Linked DNA regions of Homo sapiens: regions 1, 3 and 4 are each linked to region 2. The links are contacts of gene promoters, found by promoter capture Hi-C in blood cells and fetal thymus (Javierre and others, 2016). All regions are on one chromosome and are shown on one strand. The core of a region is centred on a gene start or on the middle of the fragment in contact, and the rest is flanking DNA. Distances in the headings are between cores, read along the strand shown. Region 1 overlaps TATDN2 (TatD DNase domain containing 2). Region 2 holds the start of BRPF1 (bromodomain and PHD finger containing 1). Region 3 holds the start of GHRL (ghrelin and obestatin prepropeptide). Region 4 overlaps RAD18 (RAD18 E3 ubiquitin protein ligase).

The links. Contacts are between HindIII fragments. The CHiCAGO score rates a contact against its expected background, and 5 or more counts as called.
Region 1: a fragment that was not itself captured here is called in contact with the fragment with the promoter of BRPF1 in region 2 in 9 of 17 cell types (monocytes, total CD8 T cells, naive CD4 T cells and 6 more); the score reaches 10.1 in monocytes.
Region 3: a contact is called between the fragment with the promoter of GHRL here and the fragment with the promoter of BRPF1 in region 2, in 6 of 17 cell types (monocytes, naive CD4 T cells, total CD8 T cells and 3 more). The highest score is 7.2, in monocytes.
Region 4: a fragment that was not itself captured here is called in contact with the fragment with the promoter of BRPF1 in region 2 in 1 of 17 cell types (neutrophils); the score reaches 5.0 in neutrophils.

What each region holds. Positions count from the first base shown.
Region 1 is chr3:10,262,108-10,265,890 of GRCh38, reverse strand. The region is part of intron 3 of TATDN2 (TatD DNase domain containing 2); the gene reads right to left. Among named protein-coding and RNA genes, the nearest start is that of TATDN2, 16 kb to the right of the region's middle. RefSeq lists a silencer at 1,767-1,956. The HindIII fragment of the contact is 1,822 bases long and covers 1,621-3,442 here.
Region 2 is chr3:9,729,767-9,733,671 of GRCh38, reverse strand. It overlaps BRPF1 (bromodomain and PHD finger containing 1), which reads right to left and starts at 1,937. Exons shown (of 14, transcript NM_001003694.2): 1 at 1,534-1,937. It overlaps CPNE9 (copine family member 9), which reads right to left. Exons shown (of 21, transcript NM_153635.3): 21 at 3,764-3,905. RefSeq lists enhancers at 822-1,381, 1,942-2,501 and silencers at 1,459-1,588, 1,599-1,648, 2,119-2,478. The HindIII fragment of the contact is 5,381 bases long and covers 1-3,108 here.
Region 3 is chr3:10,290,865-10,294,901 of GRCh38, reverse strand. It overlaps GHRL (ghrelin and obestatin prepropeptide), which reads left to right and starts at 1,955. Exons shown (of 6, transcript NM_016362.5): 1 at 1,955-2,060; 2 at 3,451-4,037. GHRLOS (ghrelin opposite strand/antisense RNA) reads right to left here. Exons shown (of 6, transcript NR_073568.1): 6 at 1,453-2,834. RefSeq lists enhancers at 1,763-2,057, 1,868-2,117, 2,128-2,197, 3,709-4,037. The HindIII fragment of the contact is 7,186 bases long and covers 243-4,037 here.
Region 4 is chr3:8,949,851-8,953,677 of GRCh38, reverse strand. The region is part of intron 2 of RAD18 (RAD18 E3 ubiquitin protein ligase); the gene reads left to right. Among named protein-coding and RNA genes, the nearest start is that of RAD18, 12 kb to the left of the region's middle. The HindIII fragment of the contact is 5,111 bases long and covers 1-3,827 here.

The DNA.
Region 1 (3,783 bases), core at 1,282-3,781, 530 kb before region 2:
ATTAGCTGAAGTCTGTCAAGATCTCCAGACCCCTGCTCCCACCCTGTGCAGATGGCCTGCCCTTTCCCCACCCAGCAAAGGACAAAAGTTGATGCTTGGAAAAGTTAAACCAAGGGGACCACAGAAAAATAAAGGTGCAATGAGCTATGACCATGCCACTGCACTCCAACCTGGATGACAAAAACTTTTTTTTTTTTTTTTTTTTTTTTGAGACGGAGTCTTGCTCTGTTGCCCAGGCTGGAGTGCAGTGGTGCAATCTCAGCTCACTGCAAGCTCCACCTCTCAGGTTCACGCCATTATCCTGCCTCAGCCTCCCCAGCACCTGGGACTACAGGTGCACGCCACCATACCTGGCTAATTTTTTTGGATTTTTAGTAGAGACGGGGTTTCACCGTGTTAGCCAGGATGGTCTCGATCTCCTGACTTCATGATCCACCTGCCTCAGCCTCCCAAAGTGCTGGGATTACAGGCATGAGCCCCACGCCCAGCTAAAATTTTTAATTTTTAAAGTTCTGGCCGGGCGTGGTAGCTCATGCCTGTAATCCTAGCACTTTGGGAGGCCGAGGCAGGTGGATCACCTGAGGTCAGGAGTTCAAGACCAGCCTGACCAGCATGGTGAAATCCTGTCTCTGCTAAACATACAAAAATTAGCCAGGCATGGTGGTCCATGCCTGTAATCCCAGCTGCTCAGGAGGCTGAAACAGGAGAATTGCTTGAACCCAGGAGGCAGAGGTGGCAGTGAGCTGAGATCACACCACTGTATTTCAGCCTGGGCCACAGAGTGAGACTCTGTCTCAAAAAGACAAAAAAGAAAAAAAAATTGGCAGCAATAAAAAAAAAAAAAAACCACGCACAGGAAAAAAAAAAAAAAGACCAAAAAAAAAAAATCAACATAAACGTTAGAAGATAAACTTGAGCCAGGCGCGGTGGCTCACGCCTGTAATCCCAGCACTTTGGGAGGCCGAGGCGGATAGATCACCTGAGGTCAGGAGTTCGAGACCAGCCTGGCCAAAATGAAACCCCGTCCCTTCTAAAAATACAAAAATTAGACAGGCATGGTGGCATGCGCCTATAGTCCCAGCAATTCAGGGGTCTGAGGCGGGAGAATCGCTTGAACCTGGGAGGCAGGGGTTGCAGTGAACCAAGACCAAGCCATTGCACTCCAGCCTGGGTGGCAGAGTGAGACTCTATCTCAAAAAAAAAAAAAGAAGATAAAGTTGAAGAAACCATCCAGAAAAATTTTTTAAAAAGGATTCACTGGGAAGAAAAGAAAATTGGAATTTCCATCCGAAAGACCAAGCATAAAATAGATGGTCCAGAAAAAGAAGAAACAGACAAGAAATCAAATAATCAAGAAATTTTCCCAGAACTTTTCTAGGCTAAGGATGTACTGAACAAATTCGACTTATTTTACTCTTTCCTGAAACCTCACTAAAACTAAAGAATCTAAAAACCAAACAAAAAACAAATAAAACCCCTCTACAATAACAAAAACACCAGAACAGGAAGAACAAGAGACTACAGTGATCACGCACTGGAGGCTAGAAAGCAGATGGCCAAATAACACCTCACTGGCAGACCAAGAGAAGGCTGAGACCTAAGCTAGGCACCAGGAAAGCTTAGAACAGAGCAGGCACTCGCGGTACTGGGCACCTTGGGAACTGGAGGAACTGGAGTTACAGAAGAACATTAAAAGGAGGAGGACAGGGTGAAATCTGGTTTCCAATGAGTTAGATCCCAGATTCCCTCCTCATACTCAGAGAAGGTGAGTTGTTTGAAGACAGTAAAACAAGAGGATCTCTAGAATAAGGCCTGGTCAGCTCAGTGGAGGGCACTGGTACTGCACCAAAAAGACAAAGATTAAGTGAATGCTGACGCCGCCCCCGCAGCCGCCCCTTTCGCTACCCAGCTCCCAGCCACCTTTCCTCCTAAGCAGGCTGAAAAACACTCCTCTGGGCAAGGTGACCAGTCTCGAGGCTTTCCTAAAAGCAGTGACATGGCAAGGGGAAGAGGGTTATATTCTCCCGATCATCCCAAAGCAAAGCTCAAAGTCTTTACGCTCAGAGCTTCCAAACAGCTTTTTAATCCTCCCATTCTTGATCATAAACAGACAACCAAAGATTACCAGACATGTGAAGGCAGCCTCTAACACAGAAGAGATCAAAAGAAACGGAAAGAAGCAACTTAAAGAAAACTAAAACCAAGCCAAAAAACTACCATGAACTCCCTAAAAGAGATAACAGAAGATGAAACAAGAACAGAGATGTTATTAAAAAACAAAAGAGCTCTTGGATAATAAAAAGCATGACAGTAGAAAAGTAAAACTAAATAAACAGCTGGGTTGGAAGATAAAGAAAAGGAAATATCCTACAAAGTAAAGCAAGAAATTGGCTAGAAACAAGGGAGAAAGGCAATAAAATTACAGGACCAGTCCTGAAAAATCCAACATCCAAATAAGAGAAAGAAGGTAGAGAAGCTAGAGAGAGAAAGAGAGAAGAAAAATACGGAAAGAAAACATCAGCGAAGTACAGTAATTCACGAACTTTTCCCACAGCTAAAGTACAAGGGTTTCTAGATTGAAAGGGAATGTCCCATGCTAAGCAAAGTAGACACCACCACCATGAAATTTCAGAGCCCTGAGATCAAAATATATTCTACAAGATTCCACAGAGGGAAAAAAAAAAAAAATACAGGTTGGGCACGGTGGCTCACACCTGTAATCCCAGCACTTTGGGAGGCTGAGCCGGGCGGATCATGAGGTCAGGAGTTCGACACCAGCCTCACCAAAATGGTGAAACCCCATCTCTACTAAAAATACAAAAATTAGCCGGGTGTGGTGGCACATGCCTGTAATCCCAGCTACTCACAAGGCTGAGGCAGGAGAATCGCTTGAACCTGGGAGGTGAAGATTGCAGTGAGCTGAGATCACGCCACTGGACTCCAACCTGGGTGACAGAGCAAAACTCTGTCTCAAAGCAAAAGAAAATAAAAAATAAAAAATCATATACCAAGGTTCAGGAACCAGCATAGCTTCAGACATCAAGAAAACCAGAAGAGGCCAGGCGAAGTGGCTTACACCTGTAATCTCAGTACTTTGGGAAGCCTAGGCAGGTGGATCACCTCAGGTCAGAAGTTTGAGACCAGCCTGGCCAACATGATGAAACTCTGTCTCTACCAAAAATACAAAATTAGCCAGGTGTGGTGGCGTGTGCCTGTAATCCCAGCTACTCGGGAGGCTGAGACAGGAGAATCACTTGAACCCAGGAAGTGGAGGCTGCAGTGAGCCAAGATCACACCAGTGCACTCCAGCCTGGGCAAGACAGAACGAGACTCCACCTCAAAAAAAAAAAAAAAAAAAAAAAAGCCCAGAAGAAAAGGAGCAATGCCTTCAAAATCCCAAACAAAACAATTTCCAACCTGGAATTCCAAAACCAACCAAGCTTGTAATCAAGGTTAAAGGTAAAATAAAGGCAATCTCAGACACATGTTTACCAAAAAAAGTTTCTCCATGTACCCTTTCTCAAGAAGCTACTAGAAAAAGTATTCCACCAAAATGTGAGAGTAAACCAAGGAAGAAGAACATGAGAAGACACAGAGTATAGGTAGCAGAAGACTCAATCCGGGAGAAATGTGAAGGAGGCTCCAGAGAGACAGCTGCCAGCTGGCCTGACGGCAGGCAGTCCAGACCAGAGCAGGACAACAGAGGGCTGAGGACGTATACCTCCAAGAGAGAAAAAAAAGAAACAGATTCCTTATTTTGACAGTATTGAGAAGGATTTTACA
Region 2 (3,905 bases), core at 688-3,187:
TCATTCCTGCAAAATGATCCCTATTTGGAATGCCCTCCATACTTTCTGATTGGTGGGCTCCTACTCATTCTTCAAAAAACCAGCTCAAATGTCACTTCTGACACAACTTCTCTGACTCTCCCATGGGGAGCTGTTTCCACAGCATTCCATTCTCACCTCTACCACAGCACTTGACATACTGAAAGTTGTCTCCCCCCTGGACTGGGAGCTGTGTAGCAAGGGTACCAGAGCCTATCCACCTCTGTATCCCCAGTACCTAGCATGCACTGGACATTCAGTTTTTGGCGAACGAATGAATGACCTGTTGAACGAATAGCTGAATGAGGGGATCACCAGACTGAGAGCTCAGATGGGATGAAGGCCATGTAGAAAGCTGAATGGGTGGGTGGCTAATGCTTTAGCGTTGGACTCCTGCAGAAATCACTGGATCACAGAAAGAATTCATTTACTTTTGAGGTCTTTATGGGGAGCCTGGCCCTGGTACTGGGTAGGAGATGTACTGTGAAACAAAGTGAAAACTGAGGTCATTTAGTCAGTGACAGCAGCTTGTATTACATTTGAGCTGTTCACCCACTCACACATCAACTGAGTGACTACCAAGTGCCAGGCCCTAAGGGTACAAACACGAACGCGACAATCTAGGCATGCTCAGCTCCATGCTGGTCCGCAGGGGCCCTCCCTCCCCGCTCCCCAACATTCCTGGGTGAGTGTAGACAGCAGATGGCACCAGGCCTCAGGAAGCCCAGCTTGGTCAGAGACTGCCCCAATTTCTCTCGGCCTAGTTGAGTTCAACCATTCAGCTAGGGGCTTGGCACCATCCCAGCCAGGCAGGGCTATCATGAGCTCCCTGACAAAATAACCCCTCTTGGCCTCTCCACCTGTGCCTTAACCAGGCAAGTGGGCTGCTCCAGCTCCACTGTCAACGGCTCCTGATTTTCACATCAGTAACGCTACACGTCCAACTGCAACTCTTCTATTTCCTACCTGCGGCTGTGTCTTTAAACATAAACCAACCGAAGCACAAACAAGCTCTCCTCTTTCCAAGCTGGGTCCCGGGTGAATGGTTCCCAAAGTAGCACAGCGAATCAGCAATCTCCCCTTGGAACCCGGCAGCAGAGGCACAGGCGAGGGAGACGAGAACTTAGACCAGAAAGCCCGTGGGGAGGGCCCAAGGAGAATGGCGGCTGCATCTGCCCCTGAAGCTCAGGGGGCTGGAGGAAGTAAGGGGCGGGGGCCGGAGGGATAGGGCTGGGCCCCGGCAGTGCCCGCAGCCCACTCTCCGGATGCGGCGGCGTTTCCCCTTTGTGGAAGTGTAACAAGTGAAACAAGGCTCCCCGCCTGCCACTAGCCCGGGCAGCCCCGAAAGATACACTGTTGCCCCAGGATGCCTGCTGGGAAGCAATGCACTGTCAGTTCTCCCAACTGGAGTTGCCAGAGAGGTTCCCGGGCCACGCGGCTCAGTGCGCGTCCCACGAACGTAGCCTACCCCTTCCCTGCCGGCCACTCCCGCCCTGGTCCCAGGCCCGCACTCACCGGCCACCTCGAGTCCGGGCTCATCGCCGGGGGCGCCCGCCGGGGCTCCGACCCCACTTGGGGAGGTCGGCGGGGAAAGTCGGGCCGGGAAGGGGGAGCCCCAACTCCGGAGACCGTAGACCTCGCCACCCCGGCCCCCTGCCGCCCCACGCTTTGGTCCCGGCTCCCCGGGATTCCTGAGCTGACCCCTGCCGCTCCTGGTCCCGCCGGCGCCCTGGGGTCTCAACTCCGTCGGCCGCCGCCCGTTTCGCGAGCCCCCAAGATGCCCGGTCTCGGGACCGGGCGCTGCTGGAACAATGGAGGCTCCCAGAGGCAGCGCGAGGACAGCGGCGGCGGAGACCGTGGCGGCAAAGGCTGTGGCAGCGGCGGCGGCAGCAGCGGCGGCGACGGCGTCTGCGCAGGGTAAACGTGGCGCCGCGGCGCTACTGAGCTGCACTTTCGCCACGGATCCCCGCCCGCCCGCTGAGGCTCGAAAGACCGTGCTCCGGGATTCAGAAAGGACCCTGGACACCCCACAGGGCTTCTCTAGCTCTCCCATCTTAGAGTGGAGTTTCTGGAGACTGAAGTCACCGTACTCGGGATCTGGGGTCGTCGGGCGGTTTGTGGCGAATCTGCAACCACGGACGGTGAGCGCGGGGCTGGGCGTGAGGAGCCCGCCCTTCTCCCCTCCCCCTCTGCCTCCTCCCTATCCGCTCCCTGCCTCCTGCTGGCGCCGCGGCTGCGGGAGGGACCTGGCCTTGGTCTCGGAGGAAGGCGGTGAGGCGGGGCCAGAGTCACGGGGCGGGGCTGGGGGCAGGGCCGGGAGCAAGAGGGATGCGGGCTGGAGCCTAAGGGACCGGTAGTTATGGGTAGGACCGGGGCGGGGCTGGAGACTAGACCGGTCTGTGGGGCGGGGCTTGTGGGAGGGGGCGGGGCTACCGCACAGCGGGGGCCTGTTAGAATAGCGGGGTAAAAAGTGGGGCTAAACAGAAGAAGAGTACTCGCGAGAGAAAGGGCGGAGCTTTGGATGAGCCTGGAAAGTGGAGCTGGACTAGAAATAAAGAACAAAGTTGGAAAAAGCGATGCGACGCTGAAGGGAGCAGGCGGGGCTTGGTAAGGCAGGGGCGGAGCTGTGGGGAAAGGGCAGGACCGATTAGGGATAACGGGGCGTGACTGAAGGAAAGGGAAGAAACTTGGGAAAAGTAAAGGAGAGGTGCTAGAGAAAAGGTATGGGTCTGAGAGAAGGGGCTGGTTTGGGGCCGGTGGGTGTGAAAGGGCTTGTCTGGTAAAGCGGTGGGAAATCTGTGGGTTGGCAGGGATGTGCTGCGGGTTGCTGATTGGAACATGGTGCCAAAACAGCTGATTTAATGTGAGTGGGTCACCTCCTAGCAATGTGAACGTGGGCAAGTTCAGTTCTTTAAGTTCCTTATTTGTAAAACAGAGCTCGAAAACTCTGTTGTTAGTTCTTGAGGGTTTCAGAGAACTTGCATGGCAGGGGGAGACATCCTTAAACAATACTTCTCCAGTTTTGTCATCAAAGAGGAGCGTGAAAGGTCTTCCAGGGTTCTGGGACAAAGCCCAAAGCATCTGAAAGCTTCTATCTTCTTAATGCAAACTTTGCATTTGACCCAATAAAATGTATGTTTTCTAAAAACCATCCCAATAAAATCGACATGCCAGGAAGAGGTTTGCTGATTAAGATCTTGGGATCTGAAGTCAAACTGATGAATTATCTTAAATGACTCATCTTCTCAGAGCCTCAGTTTCCTTATGGGTAAAGTGGGAATAATATATAGTACCTGTTCTCAGAGTTGTTGTGAGAATTAAATGAGATGATGCTTGTAAATCACCTAGCACACGGTTTGACATGTAGTGAATGTTCAAAGAAAATATTAGCTGTTATTATCCTTATTAAAATAATTCAGAATAGATGGATCAAAGCAGAGTTATACTAAGTTATCTCCTTTAGTGGTCAGGAATTCGTTTGAGAATCTGCTGAGAACTATGGGTCGTGTGTAGGATTCGGATTTTATGGAAAAAAGAAAAAAAACAACTATGGGCCTCTCTCCTGAGGAAAAACATACAAAGTTTCACTTATTAAGGTCTTTGAAGAATGTATGAAGAAGTGATTGGATGAACGTGTTAGGATGGGGATGAATCTAACTGAAGCCATCCTGGTTCCCTCCCTCTTGATGTGGCCCCAGTCGTTGGGTCCCATAGTCTTCCTTCGCCAACATGCATGAGACAGAGGTGGAATAAAGATCAGCTTTATTATTGGCATGAAGGCAGAGAGGTGGTGATAGTGCCAGGCCCTCTGCAGGCAAGGAGGCGGAGGGCTTGTCAGCCAGCACTGATCCTCCAAGTTGGCCCTCCCAGTGAAGTCCAGGGTTCCA
Region 3 (4,037 bases), core at 706-3,205, 560 kb before region 2:
TATAAGATATTCACGAGTGGAAACTGAATTGGGTTATTCAGAGAGAAAGATTTCATCTTCCATATGTTTATATTTTCTGCTGGAAGCAAGCATTTATAATCAAAATTTACCTGGGATACTTGGTAATTTATAATCAAAATTACCTGAGATACTTGAAACAGATTCTAAAGCCCCCACGCCAGAGCTACTGGATCAGAATCCAAGGATGGAGTCTTATAAACGTGCATAAAACTTATGAAGCTTTCCTCATGAATCCAACACAACCCAACACAGGTCTGTATCTGGAAATTGAGACGAGATGGCCCTCCAAGCCACGTCCCACCCTGAGGTCGTCCTATGGCTCTTAGCGGTCCATAGACTAAAAGGCTGGATGATCAGCAACGCTGAGACAACAGTTTCAGTACAGCAGTGGGGATGAGAGGCAAGGTCAAGTTTTGAGGGGCCAGGACACAGCAAAGAAGAGGACACAAGGAAAGGGGAAGGAAATGGAGATGGTAACACGAGGGGAGGGTGGGATCGGTGCACAACAGACGTTTTCAGGATTAGGAACCTGGGTGTATTTTAAGGCAGAAAGCAGAAGCCACTGGAGGGGAACAGAAGACACGAGAGAGGCAAAGTGTTAGAGCTTTGGCCCCAAGATGGCCGGAGGCTAGGGAAGCCCCAGTGAGAGAGGCAGAGCTTGGCGAAGAGGAGGGATGAGAGAGCATGGCTAAGGTCAGGGAGGATTTAAGAGCGATGGCCGCCTATCTAGAATGAGCCGCATGTGGCTGCTGAGCATTTGAAACATGGCTAGTCCAAATTGAAATGCACTGTAAGAACACACACTGGATTTCAAAGACTACACATCTGTAATCCCAGCACTTTGGGAGGCAAAGTCAGGCAGATCACTTAAGCCAGGAGTTCAAGACCAGCCTAGGCAACATGTCAAGACTCTGTCTCTACAAAAAATACAAAAATTAACTGGGTGTGGTGGTGTGACCTGTAGTCCCAGCTACTTGGGAGCCTGAGGTGGGAGGATCATCTTAGTCCAGGGAGGTGGAGGCTGCAGTGAGCCATGATAGTGCCACTGCACTCCAGCCTGGGTGACAGAGCAAGAACCTGTCTCAAAAAAATATATATGTATATTCATTTAGACATATGCTGTTGCACACTTAGACTATAGTATGGTATCAGCATACGTTTTATATTTACTGGGAAACCAACAAAATTCGTGTGACTTGCTTCATTGTGGTCTGGGACCAAAGCTGTAATGCCTCCAAGGTATGCCTGTATATTTCTATTGCAAAATGTGAATCTCGAAATTATAAAAGCTACAACTAGGACAAAAAGCAACCCCACCAAATAGCCCTATATCAAAGAATAAAATCTCTTTCTAGAACCCCAGAATTTGCCTCTTTCAGACTGAAGTTTAGCCAAATCTATGAAAAAAGAGCTTGCTAAACCAACTAATTATCAGTACAAATAAAATTATAATGAAAAGTCTATGAAGATAATTTGTTCTCAGATGCCCTTCACATATAGCAATTAATTCACAAATGATGAGTCACTCATGTGCCTTCATGAAGGCAGGCCCTCAAGAGACCCGCAACAGAAAGGAAAGCCACCGACTGGAGAGAACCTGCTTCCTGAGCCCCACCAAGTTCCAAAAAGGAGAATGGGGCTTCGTCCTCACCCTCAAGGAGTTGCCAAACTGGGCTTGGTTATTATTCACACTTGAAAAGAATGAGGAAGGTCAGCCAGTCCCCTCCAGGTCGCTCGGGCTTCCTCCAAGCTCCTCTTGGTTCAAATTTGCTGTGTCCTCCAGCCGGCATCTCTCCTCTGTTCCGTAACTGACAGGGCAGCGAGGTAGCTTCCGGATGACTCCTCCCGCCATGGTTCTTCCGTCCATCAGCTCTTCCTTCCTCAACTCTGTGGTATGTGGCTAGGGGAGTTTCCAACTCCCAGGGGACATTTCAGTTCCCCAAAGATAACACAGCTTTGCACAGTGGATGTTTACTTGCTGGTGGTCTTATCTAAGATCAACATTGGCAGCTGTGCCCGGAGAGGCCTCCAGGGTCCAGGTAAGTGGAGGCTTCATGTCTCAGGAGGTACCTGGTCACCACAGTTAGGATTTTTCTGTTTGGGGATTTTTTTTTTTATGGGTTGGTGGCTCTGAAAAAGCTGCAAGTCTTCTCTGAGGACTACAGACCTCTCTCCACCCTCTCCACATTCAGCCTCTCTGGGCTCCAGGGCCAAAAGATGTCTACACTCAGGTGGCAGACAGGCCTGTGAAGACCTCCTGGTGACATGCTCATATGTTGCTGGGACTAAAGGTGGGATTTTAGCCACCACAGTGGGTTGGTGGTGAGATGTTTACCAACAGGAGGTACTTTGTCCCTCATGTCCACTTAAAGATTCAGTCCAACCCGGCCTGTGCTTCTGCTGTCCCAAGAGACTCTAGAAAGCTCCAATCCTCCCTGAGGTTGATCTTTTAAGTCAGGGTAGGTGGTCATTCGGCAATCAACTGCTCTACTGCCTCAATGTCCTCCTCACTGGACGTCCTGCCCCAATTCCATCCTGTTCAGCGCAGACTGATTTTCCTGGAACACAATGTTCATTATGGAGCCAGATGGCATATCAGAAAGAGCACTGTATTAGGAGTCAAGAGATCCATGGGGGAATCCCAGCATTGCCCCTGATGGCTGTATAGCTTTGGGGAAAGTGAGGCCCTCTTGGCATTCAGTTTTTCTTCCAGCGAAATAAAGGATTCAGCCTCCCAGAGCTTTAAAGTCTTTCCAACTCTTTCATTCATTCTATGGTCTCTCTCTCCTCAAGAATCCTCAGTGGCTGCCCTCCTGCAAAAAAAGCCCAAACTTCTTGGGCTAGCAGTTCCCAAGGCATCCATCACCTGGCCCCAAACCACCTTCTTATGTTTTTGTTATGACCCCATCGCCACCCTCCCCCAAGCCACCCAGCCTTCTCCATGCTGCCCTGATGTACTCTACCCACGCCTTCACCTCCCCTCTGCTTGCCGCAAAGCCCTCCCTCCAAAGCCCTGCCCCGAGTTCACCACAGGCCTCTTTCCTGGAGCCTTTGCTAACATCCCTGCCGCAAGCCCCAGCCTAAGGTGAGCTCCTCTCCTGAACTGCTAGAACTTCTCTGCAGACAACTCATTGGCCCTTAGGGGTTCCTGCCTGGGCACCCAGTTGGATGAAGCACTCCAGAAAGGAAGAAATTCCTGGGGCCGAGGGAAATGAGGCAGTGGCCTTGGCCTATGCTGGGAAGTCCTATGGGCCTGGTATGAAACCATTGTCATCTGCAGGGTGTTTCACAGGTTAGAAGCCACTTTCCCCCCATCGCCTCATTTCACCCTCAAAGACTCTGGGTAAGGGGAATTATTTGTGGTCGGCGTAAGGCCAGTCAATGAGAGAGGAGCCAGGCCCGTGCTAAGCGTAGATCTTCCACCTCCAGGTCCAATGCACTTCCCTCTCAGAAGAGGCATCCGCTAAAATAGGGACCAAAGCTGCTGGAGGGAGGCAAGGCAAGCTGCTATGTGAAAAAACGCCAGGCCAGGCAGTCATGTCACACCTGGCAGAAATGACTGAAGCATAGCCACTGGCTGAAGTTATCCCCACACCCACTCTCTGGAGAGGATGATCAGGAGCAGTCTGCTCAACCGGGAGGTGGGACTCCTCCTCGGGAAGGTGTAGAATCACCAGCCTGGCTCCCTGCGGACTCCCGGGGCTCACAGAGGCCAGAGCAGCAACAGCACATGGGAAACAACGGGGCGCTGGACTGGGGAGGTCTCAGAGCTCTCCTAGTGATGACAGCCTCATTTTACCCAGGGAGAAAGGGCGAGTAAGCTAAGGTCACACAGCAACAAAGCTGCACCCAGACCCCAGAGCCACTCTCCTCCCTCCCTCCTCCACCAGGGCCATGCCCACTTGGGGCACCCCGCCACCGTGTTCCAGGGACAGCTGGAGCACATGCTTCTTCCCTCGCCAACCCAGCAATTCCGCAGGGCATCTGACCTCCACTGTTGACTTCTACCCAGAGGA
Region 4 (3,827 bases), core at 1,185-3,684, 780 kb after region 2:
TTGTTGTTATTGTACCTTCCTCCACTCTGCCCACACATCTTTTTTGGGCTCTCTTGGATGGAAAGACAAATTTCATAGGTGATTTAAATGAAGCCCTCTGGGAATACATGAATTCAAAACTCTTCAGCTGTTCTTCTTTGAATGGAAGGGTTGTCATAGTTGCCCACTAGAGAATAAATTATGCTGGTCTGCAGCTTACCAGTACATATTTGGTAGTAGTCTAGTAGAGTGAAATTAAGCCTAGGGCTTGATCTACTTAGGACTCCATATCTGGTTCTCCTCATTTCAAAAGAAAAGAAGAGGAAAGATATACAAGATTATGCAGAAGAGAAAGCAGTAGCCTTATTATAAATACTAATTTAAAAGGTACATGTGACCTTATTAATTAAATGTTATTTATTGATGTATACATAATATATATAATGTATACTTATATAGGTACAATTACATATATAATAATGTATACACTATATTGTATAAGTATACATTATATAACTATACATAGTACATATTTATATAAGTATACATTATAGTATAAATGTACAGTATATATTTATTATAAACAAATGTTTATAGATATAGTCAGTCCCTGACTTACCATGATTTGACTTAGGATTTTTCAACTTTACGATGGTGTGAAAGCGATACACATTCAGTAGAAACCATACTTTGAATTTTGAATTTTGATCTTTTCCCAGGCTAGAGATAGGTATATTAAATACATTTTGGCTTATGATATTTTCAATTTATGATGGGTTTATCGGGATGTAATCCCATGTTAAGTCAAGGAGCATCTGTAATTTTTAATAATTAATATATTAAGAGTCTGGACTCTGGTGCTTTCCTTTGCCACATATTAGTTCCATTATCTTTGGCAAGTTGGCTGAGCCCTGTGCTTCATTTTTCTTCTTGTCAAATGTGACTAACATTGGTACCAACCTCAGGGTTGCTGTGAGGATCGAAAGAGTTAATACATGTAAAGTGCTTAGAACAGAGCACATACTAAGTGCAGTGTTTATTTGAACCACATGAAATTGCCAATATTTGTCCATTTTTGACTTAACCAAAAATGTCAGTTTCATATAATTCAACTTAATAGTGACAACTTATTAATTTTTTAAAAATTGTTGCCATTGTTGAATCAATATTACATATTAAGAATGTGATTTACTGACCAAAATCCATTGAATCACTATGACTGGGGATACAGCCTGGGAAACTAAGTTAAAACCAGCATAAATCTCCCTAGGTGACTGAGCTGAGCAGCTAGGTTTTAGGATTTCTTGACTTACAGTATTGCTCAGGAGACTTCTTATAGTATAAAGAGAACAGCATTGATAATTAAGAGAATGAGTCTGGACAGGAATTTTTGCCTCAGGATGATTCATACCTTGAGTCTCATCCATATCTGATTTAGGTGATATTTAGATGAGACTTTAGATTTTAGACTTTAGAGTTGGTACTGGAATAAGTTAAGACTTTTGGGGCTGTTGAGATGGGATGGATGTATTTTGCATTTGAGAAGAACATGAATTTGGGAGGTTAAAGGTGGAATGCCTGGAGTGAATTTTATCCCCCCTAAAGTCCTATGTCGAAGCCCCAACCCCAATGTGTTGGTGTTTGAAGATGAGGCCTTTGGGAGATAATTAGGTTTAAATTAGGTCCTGACAGTGGAGCCCTAGTGATGGGATTAGTGTCCGTATGAGAAGAGATACCGGAGCTTATGGTCACTCCTCACCCCCTCATGGGAGGACGCAGTGAGCAGGTGGTTGTCTATAGGCCAGAAAGAGAGCTTTCAGCATAAACTTACCATATTGGCACCTTGATCTTGGACTTTTAGCCTCCAGAACCATGAGAAAACAATTTCTGTTGTTTAACCTGCCCAGTCTGTGGTATTTTGTTATGGCAGCTCAAGCTAAGAAATGCTTTCCTGTAGTCTTTTGTACCATTGCTGTCATTCATTTCACTTATGCATAAGCATTCATAAGCGTGCATTTTTATACGCATATACATAATAAGCATCTATAATTGAATACTTCGTTATTATTTTTGTACAAAGTGTTATCTGTTAAATTAACAAGAAAAAGTTTTTATTACAGTTTCACATATTCCTTCTCCAGTACTCTTCCTTTCTTTACGTAGATTGGAGTTTCTGACCTAAATTATTTTCCTCCTCTCTGAAGAATTTCTTTTAGCATTTCTTGCAAGGGAAGTCTACTGAAAACAGATTCCTTCAATTTGTGTTTGTCTGAGAAAGTCCTTATTTCTCTTTCACTTTTGAGGGATAATTTCTCAGGATATAGTTTTAGGTTGGTGATGATTTTCTCTCAACACTAAATATTTCGGTGCACTCTCTGTGGTTTGTGAGAAGTCAGGTGTCATTCTTTGCTTCTCTGTAGGTAAGGCCCCCACTACAGCTTCTTTCAATATTTTTTCGTTATCTTTGATTTTATGTAGTTTCAATATGATTGGCTGAGGTGTCTATTTGTTTTGTTTTTGCATTTATCCTGGTTAGTGTTCTCCGATCTTCCAGGATAAGTAGTTTAGTGTTTAACATTAATTTGGAGAAATTCTTAGCCATTATTATTTCTTCTGCTCCTTTCATTCTTCCCTTTCTGGTATTCCCATTATGTGTATGTTACATCTTTTGTAGTCATCCTGCAGTTCTTGGTTATTCTATTCCATTTTTCCTGTCTTTTTTTCTCTTTGCTTTTCAGTTTTGGAGGTTTCCATTGACATGTCCTAAAGCTCAGAGATTCCTCAGCCGTGTTCAATCTATTAATGAACCTATCAAAGGCATTCTGTTATAGCGGTTCTTTTTATCGCTAGCATTCCTTTTTGATTCTTCCTTAGAATTTCCACCTCTCTGCTTATGTTCCCATCTGTTCTTGCATGTTGTCTACTTTTTCCATTAGAGCCCTTAGCATATAATTTTTAAAAATTGCTGGTCCGATAATTTCAACATTTCTGGTATATCTGACTTTGGTTCTGATGCTTGCTCAGTTTCTTCAAACTGTGTGTTTTTCCTTGTGGTTTTTTTGTTAATAACTGGAAATGATGTCCTGGGTAAAAGGAACTGCAGTAAATAGGCCTTTAGGTATGGGCAGAGGGGACACATTCTATAGTCCTATGATTAGGTCTTTTAGCGAACTTTGCCCCTGGACTGTGAATGTTACTAACGCTCCTCAGTTTTCCCCTCCTTAGATGGGACAGGATGGCTAGAGGGCTAGAGTTGTGTATTTCCTTTTTCCAGAGTCAGCTGGGCTCTGATAAAACTCCAGTAGATTAGGCTCTGTAAAATAGTTTCTTCTGAGGGAGGGCTTTGTTGAGAACAGACTACTCTGGGCCAGTGCAGTGGCTCAGACCTGTAATCCCAGCCCTCTGGGAGGCCGAGGTGGGCGGTCACCTATGGTCAGGAGTTTGAGACCAGCCTGGCCAATATGGCGAAACCCCATCTCTACTAAAAATACAAAAATTAGCTGGGTGTGGTGTGGTGGCGCACACCTGTAATCCCAGCTACTCGGGAGGCTGAGGCGGGAGAATCACTTGAACCCAGGAGGCGGAGGTTGCATTGAGCCGAGATTGCGCCACTGTACTCCAGCCTGGGTGACAGAATTAGACTCCATCTTGAAGGGGAAAAAACAAAACAAAACAAAAAAAACAGACTACTCTGGCTTATTTAGAAATGGTTACTTTTACCCTCCTACTCCTGGAAGGACTGGGGGGTTTTTCTCCAATATTCACTGTGAGAACTTTGAAGAACTCCTGGAACTAAAACTCACAGAAGTGTGAGGACATCCTCTCCATGCCTGCAATGACAGGGTTCC